Regions from separate parts of the Homo sapiens genome. Here regions 1 and 3 are each linked to region 2. Evidence: promoter capture Hi-C in 16 types of primary human blood cells and fetal thymus (Javierre and others, 2016). All regions are on one chromosome and are shown on one strand. Each heading gives the region's core, a stretch centred on a gene start or on the middle of the fragment in contact. The rest is flanking DNA. Distances are from core to core; before and after follow the strand shown. Region 1 holds the start of TTK (TTK protein kinase). Region 2 holds the start of SLC17A5 (solute carrier family 17 member 5). Region 3 overlaps HMGN3-AS1 (HMGN3 antisense RNA 1).

Region 1 (4,436 bases), core at 1,459-3,958, 6.4 Mb before region 2:
TTCTTTACAACCTTAACCATTCAACATTATCTCTGTATACCTCATACTTACTTGTAAAACCAAACCAGCTTTACAAAAAATAAACAAATGAGACAATCATTTTCTTCTCTCCAAGTAACCTAAATTTCTGCTAGAGGCCCTGATAATTTCTTGGTCCAACAAACTCATAGTTACCGTGGTCTAGACCTTTGGAATTTATAGGACCTCTTGTGACTGTCAGGTTTCTCTCTGTGGAACCCCAACCAACAGAAACAGCAAGAATAACCTTCAGACAAAATGTTCACACTGAAATGTACTTTTTACTTTCTTCAGTGTTAGTTTTTTAAAAAGATAACTTGAATGTCAGTCTTCTGTTCAGGATATTTTGGTTATTACTAAGCAATATTAAATTCAGATTTCCAGAGAAGCTATTATTCCTTCTATTAACTTCAGTCACTTTCAACAAAGCCTACATCTTTACTTTTATAAATAAAATTTGTTTCTACTTTCTACTAAAATATAGTGCATGCATAACTTTGCTTTGTCGTTTTAAATTTAATTTGGTCTGACCTTAATTTTCTATTTTTACCTCCTATTGCTTTCCTAAGAAATTAGTCTGTGAAATGTCTAAAAAACACACATTGCCATCTGTGGCTTTGCAGATGCATTCCTCATGCCTGAGTACCCTATTCTTCCTCTAATCAACAAATAAAACATTTGTGTTTTATCATGCTAGTATTCCTATGATGCCCAGCATGCATTACAATGTAGCATAGTGAATATATAAATTCTCATCTAGAAAGAAACTATGGTTTTAAGCATCTTTGAATCTTCCTCAGTACTTAAAATACTCAATTGCCTTGATGTACAACCTTTGTTAGTGACATAATTAAGCACAATTATACTCCATTAAGATTTTGCTTAACACTAAAACTATCATTTTCTAGGTTTTTTCAAAGTGAACAGTCAGCCACCATGATTAGATCACAGGTTCTTCCATTTATTTTCAATTCCTCATCTATTTAAAGGTTAGTATAGATGTAAGAAAATTATCCAAAGGTCACCATTCAAATGACCAACCATTTGAAATACAGTAAAGAATCAGGCTTCTGAGCTAATACTTTTAGAAGAGCTAGAGTATTAAACTCTGGGCATTTTCACCCATTAATCATTGTTCAATAAATGTTTAAGTGCCTACCTACCATGTGCCAGACACCATTCAAAGTTCTGTGGATATAACAGACAAAAACCCTGCCATCATGTAGCCTGCATTCTAATGGAGGAGAAAGACAATAAACACATGAGTAAATTATAAATAAAGTGATTAGTACTATATCTTTACCTTAGAGGATACCCAACAAACAGTTACTAACTTAAAAGAAAAGAAAAACTCACCTGTAGTATCAGCAGAAATTTTATTCAAGCTTAGTTCATCAGTAAGGTCTTCATTTTTAAACTTATTTTTAATGTCTCTCACTTTGTTCATTATGGAATCAATTGTCAATTCTCTGCCACTTAAATCCTCGGATTCCATTTCTAAGAAAAAAACTGAACAGTCATAACTCCTACTTTAACTAGCATCAAAGAAAAAAATGCACTAGCTTTTTAGAACCCAGACGACTAAAGCATTCGTTTTGTGAACACATCTAAATGCAGCTATTATTAGGCTAGTATTAATGGAGGTAAGTGCACAACAACAAGGTACACATCTTTGTAATTTATTCACCAAGGTTTCATAGGCCAAGTATACTTTTTCCCCCAATATAACATCAATGACGTCACACTGTAGAAATCTGCAAATTTAGTGTCACTTAAAAAAAATATGATAGAGTGTTTGCTTGGATTTTGGTAGCGACATACACATAAAGATTGCTTGGATTCTGGTAGTGACATAGACATAAAGAATTCGTTTGGCAATGGGAATAACAATTCCTTTATTCGCCTGCTTTACTTGAGTAAATCTTCCAGTGCAAGTGCTTTCAAAGCAGAATATAAACATGATGGGGCTTTACTGATAATTAGGAAATCCGCAGATTTATTCTTGTGCATATCTAGCAGAATCACGATTTGCTACCTTAATCTAACACTAAGAAACTATTGTACTGGTACTGAGCACTTGCTTATCTGCATGGTGGTGGTGTTTGTTCAATAAAGTGTCTGCAGTCTTATTGTTAATCGTATCTTTGTGACTCTCAAACACCAACTCAGTGTCACTGATAACAATGCTGCCCCGTCTTCAGGTTTAACAATGAAAAAAAGTCATAAAGTTGCAGCAAGGTATCACTCCACCTCTTAAGTCAGGTTTGAAAGATAACTGTCAGATCACGGCCACCCGCTTCTTTCCCAGTTCTAACCCCCAAAACAAGAGAGACTGTCCTTTGGAAAACGATCTTGTGCGCAGGTACCCCACCACCCCTTCTTTCCAGCGTGGGCCACACCCACTTCTTACTTCCTCAACAAAACCTCCTGCATCACCCCACCGGCCAGACCCGCTGAGGCAGTGAGACATCCCCTCCCCCTCCAGCTCGTTTAGCCGCGTCGCATACCTGGCTCCGAGCTGCCCCCACCTCGCCCCACCCCTCACCGACCAGCGCTAACAATGAGCCCCTACACCGGCTGCGGCTGTTCCTCAGTGCGCCGGTGCACCGGTAAGACAGAACTTACCTACAGAAAGCTGCGCTGGGGAAATGAAAAGATGGAACCCAAACTCCTTTCCGCAAACACGTTTGAATTTCCCCGTCGCTATCACTACGGTCTCCTATTGGTCAATGCTAGCCACGTAGAAGCGACAGTCGTGATTGGTTCTTGTGCGACGGGGGCCGCCCCTCCTCCTGCGTCAGGCTAGGCCCGCCCCGGAAGAGCCTGCGGCCGCGACCCCACCCGTGCGGCGCCTGGGTTGGTAGGGTGCTGGCACTTTGCAGGCGTTCCCCGGACGCCCGTGGGCGGGCTTTCCTGGTCTTTCCAGTTTAACCAGGCCGAATTTTTGCCTGGGAGGTAGCCACTCCCGAGCAAACCTACCCAGTGAGAGGAATATAGGGGCAGGGACGGCTGCTCCTAGCATCAGGACCTAAAAGATGCACCTTGGGCCGGCCCTTTACTGACCCCACCGCCACCCTTCTCCTTCGTTTCCCGCGGTTCTCACAGCCTGGCTTAGAGAGGATGTGGCAAGAAAGGATCTTTCACTGAGCTACGTTCAGCCCTGCCGCCAGCTCAAGAATTTCAGTGCTTTTTATCCTTGAGCTTCTGCTTATGCCCTTCCATTATCCTTAAATGACTCCACGCTCTGTCTTCAAGCCAAGACCCTCCCCCTTGTCAAAATTCTGCGCAGAACTCAAGCGCCCATCGTGATTGCCCTGTCTGAAGTCGCCTTATCGGCCCCCCTCCCTCGAAGCCTGCCCCACTTAAGGGCTCAGGTGTCCTCAGGGGTAAAAACATCTCCCTAGTAATAATCTTCGCGGGTGCGAGGCTCTGCCGCTAAGTGGCTTTGTGGTCCAGGGCAACGGTTACTCCTCGTCTGCAAAACTAAAAGGGATGTGTCTGTTGTGCCAGCATTATGACATATATTCTGTGGTAGGACGGGTTGGTTTTGTGTATGTATAGGAAACTAACTGCAGCTGTCACTTGTTAACTCCAAAGCTATCCTTAGAACCCTCACATTCCCAGCTCTGGATAGCCACCCAGCTAGCGTGAGAGCCCTTCTCAATCACTTAATGCATCTTTCTGTGTCAGCTAGCTAGTATTTCTGCTTCAGCAGAGCAAAATGACTTGCTATACCATGGTTGGCTAATCACTTACCTTTGCACCATTGCATCTAATGCTTCTGCCTGGAAAGAGTTTATTATTCCTCCAATTCTCGTTGATCTGTTTGCGGCCTGATCACAAAGCTTGCATTTTCCTTAAAATACTGTTGCTGGATGACCTCACCCTAACACTTCTTTCTGTACTCTCGTTTGGTGGTCTCCTTCAGTCTTCTATTTTTAAATACCATCTATATGTTGATGGCTCCCAAATGTGTATCATTAGCTGAGCTCTCCTCAACTCCATACTCAGATATCCACTGCCTACTTATTAACATCTTCACTTACATGTCTCATACGCATCTTGAACTCAAAATGTCCAAAACCAAGCCCCTGATCTTCCTACCCAAACCTGTTTTTTTTACAAAATCTATAAAAGACAAATTCATTGTCTTAAATTTTTTAGCCCCAAAACCTTTGTGTCATCCCTGATCCCTTATCTAACTCATAAGCAGATTGAGTCAGGGCTGGCACAAGAGATTCCTGGACTCCTACCAGTTCTCCCCACCTCCACTGCCACCACTTCAGTCCAAGGCATCTGCATCACTTAACTGATGTTACCTGCAGTAGCCTCCTGGCTGGTCTCCCTGCTTCTGCCCTTGCCTCACCTCAATTTATTCTCTGACATAGCAAAGTCATCTTAAATCAGATTATGTCACT
Region 2 (4,696 bases), core at 1,616-4,115:
AACTGGTGGAGTATAGATAACTCCCCACCCCTTAAGTGAAGGCTGCACATACTGATTTCCTTCCAAAGAGAAAAGTAAGGCCGGGGGAAAAGAGTTAACTTCACAGTGAAAACACCTGACAAACACAACCTCAGGCATGCAATGAGGCTTACCATCACTACTGATAAACATCAGTGATAAATAAGTTGACAGCACATTCCCTTGACATTACATGATGAGAATGGCCCTTTACCTCTATGACCTTTCCCTCAAAAATCCATAACCCCAGTCTAATTATAAGAAAAACATTCAGGCCGGGGGTGGTGGTTCATGCCTGTAATCCCAGCACTTTGGGAGGCTGAGGCAGGTGGAGGCTGAGGCAGGAGGTCAGGAGATGGAGACCATCCTGGCTAACATGGTGAAACCCCATCTCTACTAAAAATACAAAAAATTAGCCGGGCGTGGTGGCATGCACCTATAGTCCCAGCTACTCGGGACGTTGAGGCAGGAGAATCGCTTGAACCTGGGAGGTGGAGGCTGCAGTGAGCCGAGATCGTGCCACTGCACTCTAGCCTGGACGACAGAGCGTGACCTCGTCTCAAAAAAAAATTCGACAACCCAAATTAAGACACTTTCTACAAAACCTACCAGTACTCTACAAAACTGTCAAGGTCAGCAAAAGCAATGAAAGTCAGGAACTGTCGATCTAGAGGAGCCTAAGGAGACATGTAATGTGGCATCCTGGATGAGATCCTGGGACCGAAAAAGGATATTAGGTAAAAATTAAAGAAACGCAAATTAAGTATGAACTTCAGTTAATAATTATCTATACTGGCTCGTTAGTTATGATATATGCATGATACTAATGTAAGATCTTAATAATAGGTCAAACTAAGCAAAGGGTATGGAGAACTCACTGTACTATCTTTGCAACGTTTATGTAAACCTAAAATTTCTAAAATAAAAAATATTAAAAAAAAGAATTCCTCTGGTTTGAAGTCTTTCAAGTCTGTTGCAACTATATTCCCTGGCCCAAGTTATCTATAACCTTGGTCATCTGGGAGCTTGTTAGCAATACAGAATCTCAGGCACATCCCAGATGTACTGGGCTTCTCAGAGAAACAGCCCCAATTGGGTAGTTTGGGTAATAAAGTTTTGGCTTTCACAATATAGGCTGGCCAACTCGACCCAAAACAGATGATGGTGCACATGCCTGGAGACCCAGGAGGACCTGTGGTGCAGATGAAGTCTGAGGACACTCTGCTGGAGAAGTCTCCCTTGCTTGGGCAAGAGAAGTGGGGGAGTCGGATTTTTTATTCTAGATAGGCCTTCAACTGATTGAAGGAAGCCCACCCAGATTATGGAAGGCAGCCATCTTTACCCAGAGTTCAATGATTTTAGTGTTAACCTCATCCAAAGACAACCAGCAAGTTAACACATAAAATTAACCATCACACCAGATCTGCTGAATCTGAATCTACATTTTAAAAGGATTTGCCAGGTGACTCTGCATAATCCAGTTTGAAAATTGCATTTTTCTACAACCCTTAGAGAGTGTAAAAATCTACATGGTAATTCAGTAACTCAGAAACAAGGCTTGATTTGCTGCTTTAACTTGAGAACTTTTCTAGCATTTACTGATCTGGAGGTAGGGATGCCTACAGAAATCCTCGCCCTCCCTTCTAGGTAAAGGACCCTCCCCTTTGTTCTCACGTGAACCTCACTAAGCTTCTAACCTGGTTTACTGAATTAGTGGCTTGTGGGTCTTCCCTGTCTACACCAAACTCTCCGAGAGCATCTACATCTTATTTTCTACCTCCACAGAGACAGCCTTTATTGGCGGATCCAGATCTGCCCTGCCAAGGCAAGCTGGGTTTTCCTAGTTTCACTTTCAGAGTCCGCAAATGCTAGCACAATCTATCCAAATTCTATCGTGGAGATAAAGCATGCACACATACATCAGAGGATTCCATAGGTCGAACCATATGAAACTACCTATGTTGATTACTTTTACCTATAAAACCAGCAACATCATAGGACTCAACAAATTTCCATTGCTGTTTTTCCGCCTAAAAGCTATTTTAGGACCAGGAGCAGTGGCTCACGCCTGTAATCCCAGCACTTTGGGAGGCCGAGGAGGATTGCTTGAGCCCAGGAGTTCGAAACCAGCTTGGGCAATATAATAAGACCAAGCCTCTACAAAAATAAAAAGTAGAAACAAAATTAGCCAGATGTGGTGGCATGCTCCTGTAGTCCCAGCTACTTGGGGGAGCTGAAGAGAATCGCTTGAGTCCAGGAGTTGGAGGTTGCAGTGAGCTGCGATTGCGCCACTGCATTCCAGCTTGGGCAACAGAGCAAGACCCTGCCTGGGAGAAAAAAAAAAAAAAAAAAAAGCTATTTTAGGGACAATATGCCGCCACAGTCACGAGGTAAATATGCCGCCACAGTCACGAGGTAGATCGTACAAAGGTTGCTAACAGTATGGCAACTGACCGCTAACAAGCGAATGTCAAGTTGTGAAATGCACACCACCCACTTCCCTAGTTCGGTCGAAGCCCTCCCCTTAATTATGTGCAATTCAAGTCCCCACTGCCCGCCCGCAAGCCCCCACTCATCCTCGCTGCGGGCAGGGTGGCCCCTGCACTTTACAAGGGGGTGCAGGAGCGGGAGACGGTCGTCCGAACACCGGCTCCCCGGCATGCGTAGACCGGCGGGCGGAGCGGGCTCACTTTGCGCCAATCCTACGAGAACTCCCAGAACTCCGCTTCCCTAGTCCAACCCAAGCCAGAGTTGCCCACACCTAAGATGGCGGCGGGGGCGGAGTCGGCGCGGCCGCCTCTGGGCGGGACCGCGGGGACTAGACGTGGCCGCGGGGCGGTGTCATCGCCCCCGCCCCGCCCGGTCCAGCCAGCTCGGCCCGGGGGCTTCGGGCTGTCGGGCCGGCGCTCCCTTCTCTGCCAGGTGGCGAGTACACCTGCTCACGTAGGCGTCATGAGGTCTCCGGTTCGAGACCTGGCCCGGAACGATGGCGAGGAGAGCACGGACCGCACGCCTCTTCTACCGGGCGCCCCACGGGCCGAAGCCGGTAAGCGGCGGGGTCGTCCAGGGGCTTCGAGTGGGCAGCGGTACCGGGGGCGGCGGTCTCTGGGCCGGCATGGCCCGGGTACCCGCACCCTGCGCCGGCGGGACCGGAGCTGCTCAGGCGCGAGGGGACATTAAGAGGGGAGCCCGTTCAGAGTGCCGCTCAGTCCCGCCTGCCTCGGTGCGCAGAAGCCCCTCGGGAACCCCGGGGGCCGCGACCGTGATCGCGGAGCCGAGCCGGGGCCTCGGCAGGTGCAGCCCCACCGGGCGGGGGCGGGGGCGGGGGCGGGGGCGGGGGAGCGGCGGTGCAGCCGGCGCTGAGCTGGTGGTTATTTTGGGTAGTGCTGAGCAAGGGACCCAGTGGAAGAACGAACTGGGAGAGAATCATCAAATGAATGGGCTAAGGTCCGAGCGGAGGACCCCGGTGTAAGAGCAAACTGGAGGAGAAACCTGCAGATCAGTAGGCAGAGGGCTGTCCTTCCCTGTCACCGCTAGGTTTCCGCCACTGCGTATCCGCCAGCATGTGACCTGGTAGCTTCTTAGGCGGGGAGGGAAGACAAAAAAGGACTGGAGTTAACATTTGTGAGTATGCAGAGGGCAACTATTGTATAACCCAGCTGATATCTTGACATTGTGCAGTAAGAGACTAAAAACATCGAGGACATTTTTTTTCCGTCTGGCAGTCTATGATTTAAGTTAGGAAAAGGTTCAGTTATCCTCAAGATACCTATGGAGTTCTAAAGTAATTTGCCAAAGGTCTTGGAACAAATCGAAAAGCAGGTACGTCATAAAGCATCTTCCCTGAATTTGAGAAAATTAAAATATTTTGCTATTTGACACTTTTGTAATATAGTTTATTTAAAAGTAACGAAAACTAAAGAACAAATCAGTTTGAATGCATTCTATAGTTTCAAAGATCTGTGCGTGAGAAAGAGTTGTGTTGGAAATTTGACTTTGGCTAACCCAGAATTGTATAGTTTCTATATTTTTATTTGTTTTTAATGTTACCAGATGGTGGCAGTAGAGGTGGCAACCTTATAGCTCCATCTGGCAGCCGGGAGCTTATTTTAGTCAACACAAACTGTAAATACCATACCATAGTTACGTTTTACCTGGAAGTCGGACTTAGTTCCATAAACTGATCATTTTCTGTGGCTTGTAGTGTTCAAATTGTATAATATTCCTCATAAAATAATATAGAAATACAGAAATAAAAGTTATAATAAAGATATTTGCCAGAGATTATTACATTGTTACAATTGAAAAATATGTATATGTATAATCAAAATTTAGCACAAATGTTAAACATTATTCTCAGGAAAATGCAGATTAAAATTACAACGAGGCACTATACACCCACTAGAATAGCTAAAATCCAAAAGGCTGATAATACCAAATGTTAGCAGAGATGTGGATAGAAAAGTTATACATCTCAATAAAGATTGAGATGGACAAATGTATACATTTATCACGTAAATTATACTTCAATAAAGTTGATTTTTAAAAAAGTAGCTTATAGCATCCCTTTTAAAAACAATCCCTACTTGATTCATGTGTTGAGTGTATGGATCTTATGGTACTGGCCCTGTCCTTCCTGGCTTTAGGTGGCTACGTTTGTTACAACCATTTCCTTTTT
Region 3 (4,524 bases), core at 1,671-4,170, 5.6 Mb before region 2:
AGCTGGAGGAACTAAAGATTGCTTTGTTATGTTTTGTTTTGTTTTGACCAGGCCTATTGCCAAAATCAGAATTCTGTTAGTAGGAAGAAAGCTAGTGTGAATATTGGGCAGGTAACTAGTGGTATCTGCCTTGAATAGACATTCTTTTTCTCATTTTATAATAAGGAAACCAGGGTTCAAAGAGGTTAAGTAATGTGATGGTAGCTCAATAGCTTGAGATTTGAATTCATGCCTATGACTGCAAATTCCAAACTTTTTGATAAACATTTATTTTTAAAATGGTTAAAACAATTTTTTTGACATGTTAAGAGGTAAATTGGATTATTTAGGAGAAAAAAAAAGAAAAAAACAACCCATTTGCTTAAGATTACAGACAGCAGAAGTGGGAGTGGGAATGAGAAGGTAGAAAAGGATGAGAGTTTTTTTGTGGGAGTAGCACAATTCTGTGTTTTAAAAACAACAAAAGCCTTATGCAGATAAGCAGCCTTGAAGATTATGGCACATTTGCAGGCTAGTTTTCCACTGCTGGGCAAAACTTTATTGCCTTGTGGCTAGAATTCATTCTGACCTGGTGGCTAGAATTCATTCTGACCTGGCCAAACTCATTTTATCGGCTAACTCTTTCTTAGTGCTTGAGAATTACAAGAGTTATTAACCAAGCTAACCTGAAAATCATCTCCAGTTGCTTTATGGTATTTTTCAGAATGATTCATTCGACTCTCATTTCCCCAAACCAGCATTTTCTTGCTTTCATTGAGAAAAGGAAAATGGTATGATATCTCCGAAAGGCAGGACCATTGAGGGTAGCGACGGGGATGGGGTTACTAAATGTTCCTTACAAGCTCCCAGGGATTCTGAGATTTGAAGGAAATGCAGAAGACACCAAAAATAGGTAGTCAAAATCACTAGCTTAAAGAAAAGGGTGTGGTCCCATTTGAGAGTGTACTGGCACTGACAGTAGTTTACAAGAATGTGCAATTCAGTCGGAGAGCTCTGCAACAACTACTAATTGGTCTTTGGCACCTTGCAGCTTGTGGCTTTTTACCTAAGGGGATGGGATGGAGTCCTTATTTTGCTGTGTCCTCACCATGAACTTTGGGGATTTCCTTCCCTTAACTTTCTCACCTCCTTGAGCCTGGATGGCTCTTGGCACCAGCCATGCTAACAATCTGACAAAAAGGAATGGCTAAACCAATGTATCCCAATCCCTGGTTCTAGCTACTGAGCATATCTAATTCATTCCCAAATAGTCATTTGGGTGCTAAAAAGAGCAAATTAATCACACTCCTGTGAGTTTAAGCAGCAGGAGCAAGAAGGAGAGGTAAATATCACAGAGATTGAACCTGAAAAGTACCAGGGGTGGAAAAACTGTGTAAAACATACCTGGGGTAAAGAATCTGCACAAATATTAAATTTGATTGAAGGTTGGGAAAACAAAGAGTGGGTTCCTTGGAAGGTCACAGAATGCCCTGGTTCCTCTTGCTGTTAATGCAGTTGTGAAGTATGCTTATGCAATCATTGACATTTAGCCTTGAAAGGGTGTGGCTTATGGGCTTTGGCCAAGGTAAGTTCCCTTTGAGGATTTGGGATCAGGGATTTTCATCTCCCAGGGGCCCAAGGAGCTGCCTAGAGGGGCTGCCTGGGAAGAAGAAGACACTTTTCTAGGTATCTGGATGTGTGCAGTTTTTAATCACTCTTCAGGTTCCTTGCAACTACAGAAGAGAAAGAAAGTGAAATAAACAGGTTGTGCCCAGCAAAACTGAGATGGAGCAAAAGCATGAGGTGAGGACTGTGGGGCGAGTTTCACCCACAGAATTACGCTCCTGCTCTGGAAGTATGTTGAGAACTCCACAGGCTTTTATAGATACCTGTCATCAGAATCCAAGTACCGGCATTCAGCAAATATTTGTTGAGAGCAAGGGCCTAGTCTATTAAATACTCTAGTCCCCGAATTATAGTGTAAGCAACACATGAAAAGCTTGTTTGAAAATGCAGATTTCCAAGCCTAGCCATTCAATACCTTGGGACTGGGGCCTAGGGATCTGCACTAATATCAGGCAGCTCATTTGATTTGGGACCGTTAGTTCTTGGACTCTTATTGTTGCTTTGTAAAAACTAACCTTGGTCTCTTCAAAAGTTAGCACCCAATCAAAGTAGAGACTTGACTGGAAAATACAAACAAAATATTCTTTTGCCACCTCTTATTTGTTGTTTTTGATGTTGTTTTGTTACACACCTGAATTCTTCACTGTGTATTTTTTGACCTATTTATGGAAGATTAGTAACTTAATCTGGAATTACAAACTATCAGAAGCAACACAGTATCATTTTCACTTTTCCCCTTTCTTCCTTTCTCCCTCTGTCTGTCTCTCTCTCTCTCTCTCTCTGTGTGTGTGTGTGTGTGTGTGTGTGTCTGTCTGCCAATGTCTCTGTCTCTTTCTTTGCCTTAATGATAGTCATGACTATCATTTGTTTTGCCCTGCTGTCTGAAAAATGCAAAGTAGGTGTACAGTTGCAACTATCAAAAGCAACAATATGTACATTCTGGATCTGACTTCTCCAGTAATTTGTCATTACTTACAGCAAAAGCCTAAGGGACCCTGCCTGTGTCTGCCTGAAAGAGGAAAAGAGGGACAGTTCAAGAAGGAGGTGATCTGCAAGTCATTCTTTCCCTTGAAAACTTCCTCTCAAGCCTGGTGTGGTGGCTTGCACCTATATAACTACTCAGGAGGCTGAGGCAGGAGGATCTCTTCAGCCCAGCAGTCTGACGTGCAGTGAGCTATGATTGTGCCACTGCATGCCAGCCTGGGCAACAGAATGAGATCTTACCTCTAAAAAAAAAATTTTAATATTAAGCATTTTTTTTTCGGAATGTCAAAGATCCACAACATTCATTAGCAGTGGCATTCAATTTTTTTGACCAAGACCATACTAAAAATATATTTCATGTCACAATCCAACATACACACATACATATCTGTGTTGTGTATGTGTTTATATGAGCACATATGGAAAATAGAAACAATTATCTTATGAAACATTACTTACCTTTACCATATATACTCTGCTATTTTCTATGCTTGGCCCTTTCTTTGCTTTTCTTAGCCTTCCCTTCTCCCTTCTCCCTCTCTCTCTCTCTCTCTCTGTGTGTGTGTTTGCGTGTGTGTGTCTGTCAATGTCTCTGTCTCTTTCTTTTCCTTAATGATAGTCATGACACTATAAATGGTTTTGCCCTGCTGATTGAAAAATGTGAAGTAGGTGTACAGTTCCAACAGTTTTGAGTAGGACAAAAGAGGAGAGGAGCTGGAATTGGAAAACAAGTTTGTTCACTATTTTTTTTCTTTCTGTCTCAGTCAGTAACTCTGTTAATTTATCCAGGTCTACCTTAGCTAAGATAGTATATACATCCTACTTTTACTGTCTTAGAGGCTGATATTCCAAAGTAGTAGAAATGCTCAGTGGAATATATTGATAAACAAATGAGTCTGTACTTCTTACCAGCTTGACCTCCTCACTGTCTTCTATGTGACACCCTCATTTCTGCCCAGATGTCTTTATCTCTTAACCTAGAATTCTAGCTACCTGCTAAATCATTCTCTTTGCCTACTCTTCTTACCTCCAGGGCCACCAGTAGAGGTTTGCACTGACTTTCCCAGATCTTGAAGGCTACTAAAGGTACAAGGGAGAACACTTCATTTCCTAGAGTAGTGCTCAGCCAGGTGCAATCTACATCAAAGGAAAGATAAGCAATGCTGTTGTTTTTCAACCGAAGCTGTTATTTTCATAACTTGTAAATGAACTAAAGATTCCAAGAACTCGAGGTCCTCACAATCAGCTTTCTTCATCCAACAAGCAAGCTTCAATTTCATCGTAGCATTTTTATTGTGTGCAGTAAAAACATTCACAATTTTGTTTGCTGTTGATGATCTGAGTGTTTGGTTTTGAAAAAAAATTAACAAAGAAGCCAATTTTGTGAGTTATTTTTCATCACAGAGGAGAAATATTCACCTTAGCACTACCTTTGTTGTGGCACCTTTCCATCTCCATGAAGAAAAATAGCCATCCAGTCCAGATTGCAAGTGCTACTCAGTATCCTTCTCACACATATCTTACTAAAAATGTTTTCACTGACTTTTTCTTTATTTAACTATCAAGTATTTGGCAAATTAATATCTTGAAAGACATCTTCATTATAAATATTATTTTAATGATAAAATTATTAACTTGTAAATTTTTATCTAGCTCTAAGCAATTGGTTTTTATCTTAATTCGTTTCAGTATACTATTGTCATTCACTGAATGCCCAAGAACAGGGAATCTATCAAAAATGATTAAGATCATGTCAAAAGGACACAAGCACTAATTTGAAAGGGTATGCATTGGCTAAAGATGTGGTAATAGGAGCATTAAAAAGGTAATAATAATGATAGCAATACACTGATGCACACCAAATATGTAAAAATCCATGAGTTCATAAAGATGTTCCAAAAAAGAAAGTAATCAACCACCTCTGGAGAGTACTAG

Evidence for each region. The method cuts DNA at HindIII sites, captures the fragments that hold promoters and counts their contacts. A CHiCAGO score of 5 or more calls a contact.
Region 1: a contact is called between the fragment with the promoter of TTK here and the fragment with the promoter of SLC17A5 in region 2, in 4 of 17 cell types (non-activated CD4 T cells, naive CD8 T cells, fetal thymus and 1 more). The highest score is 14.5, in non-activated CD4 T cells.
Region 3: a fragment that was not itself captured here is called in contact with the fragment with the promoter of SLC17A5 in region 2 in 1 of 17 cell types (non-activated CD4 T cells); the score reaches 6.3 in non-activated CD4 T cells.

What each region holds. Positions count from the first base shown.
Region 1 is chr6:80,002,921-80,007,356 of GRCh38, reverse strand. TTK (TTK protein kinase) reads right to left here and starts at 2,708. Exons shown (of 22, transcript NM_003318.5): 1 at 2,644-2,708; 2 at 1,375-1,515. The coding sequence starts at 1,513. RefSeq lists enhancers at 3,107-3,226, 2,797-3,671. The HindIII fragment of the contact is 2,460 bases long and covers 1,406-3,865 here.
Region 2 is chr6:73,652,161-73,656,856 of GRCh38, reverse strand. It overlaps SLC17A5 (solute carrier family 17 member 5), which reads left to right and starts at 2,865. Exons shown (of 11, transcript NM_012434.5): 1 at 2,865-3,064. The coding sequence starts at 2,971. RefSeq lists an enhancer at 1,661-1,750 and a silencer at 2,750-3,419. The HindIII fragment of the contact is 4,556 bases long and covers 1,710-4,696 here.
Region 3 is chr6:79,236,137-79,240,660 of GRCh38, reverse strand. HMGN3-AS1 (HMGN3 antisense RNA 1) reads right to left here. Exons shown (of 2, transcript NR_040671.1): 2 at 3,861-4,524. Among named protein-coding and RNA genes, the nearest start is that of HMGN3, 3.7 kb to the right of the region's middle. The HindIII fragment of the contact is 1,879 bases long and covers 1,981-3,859 here.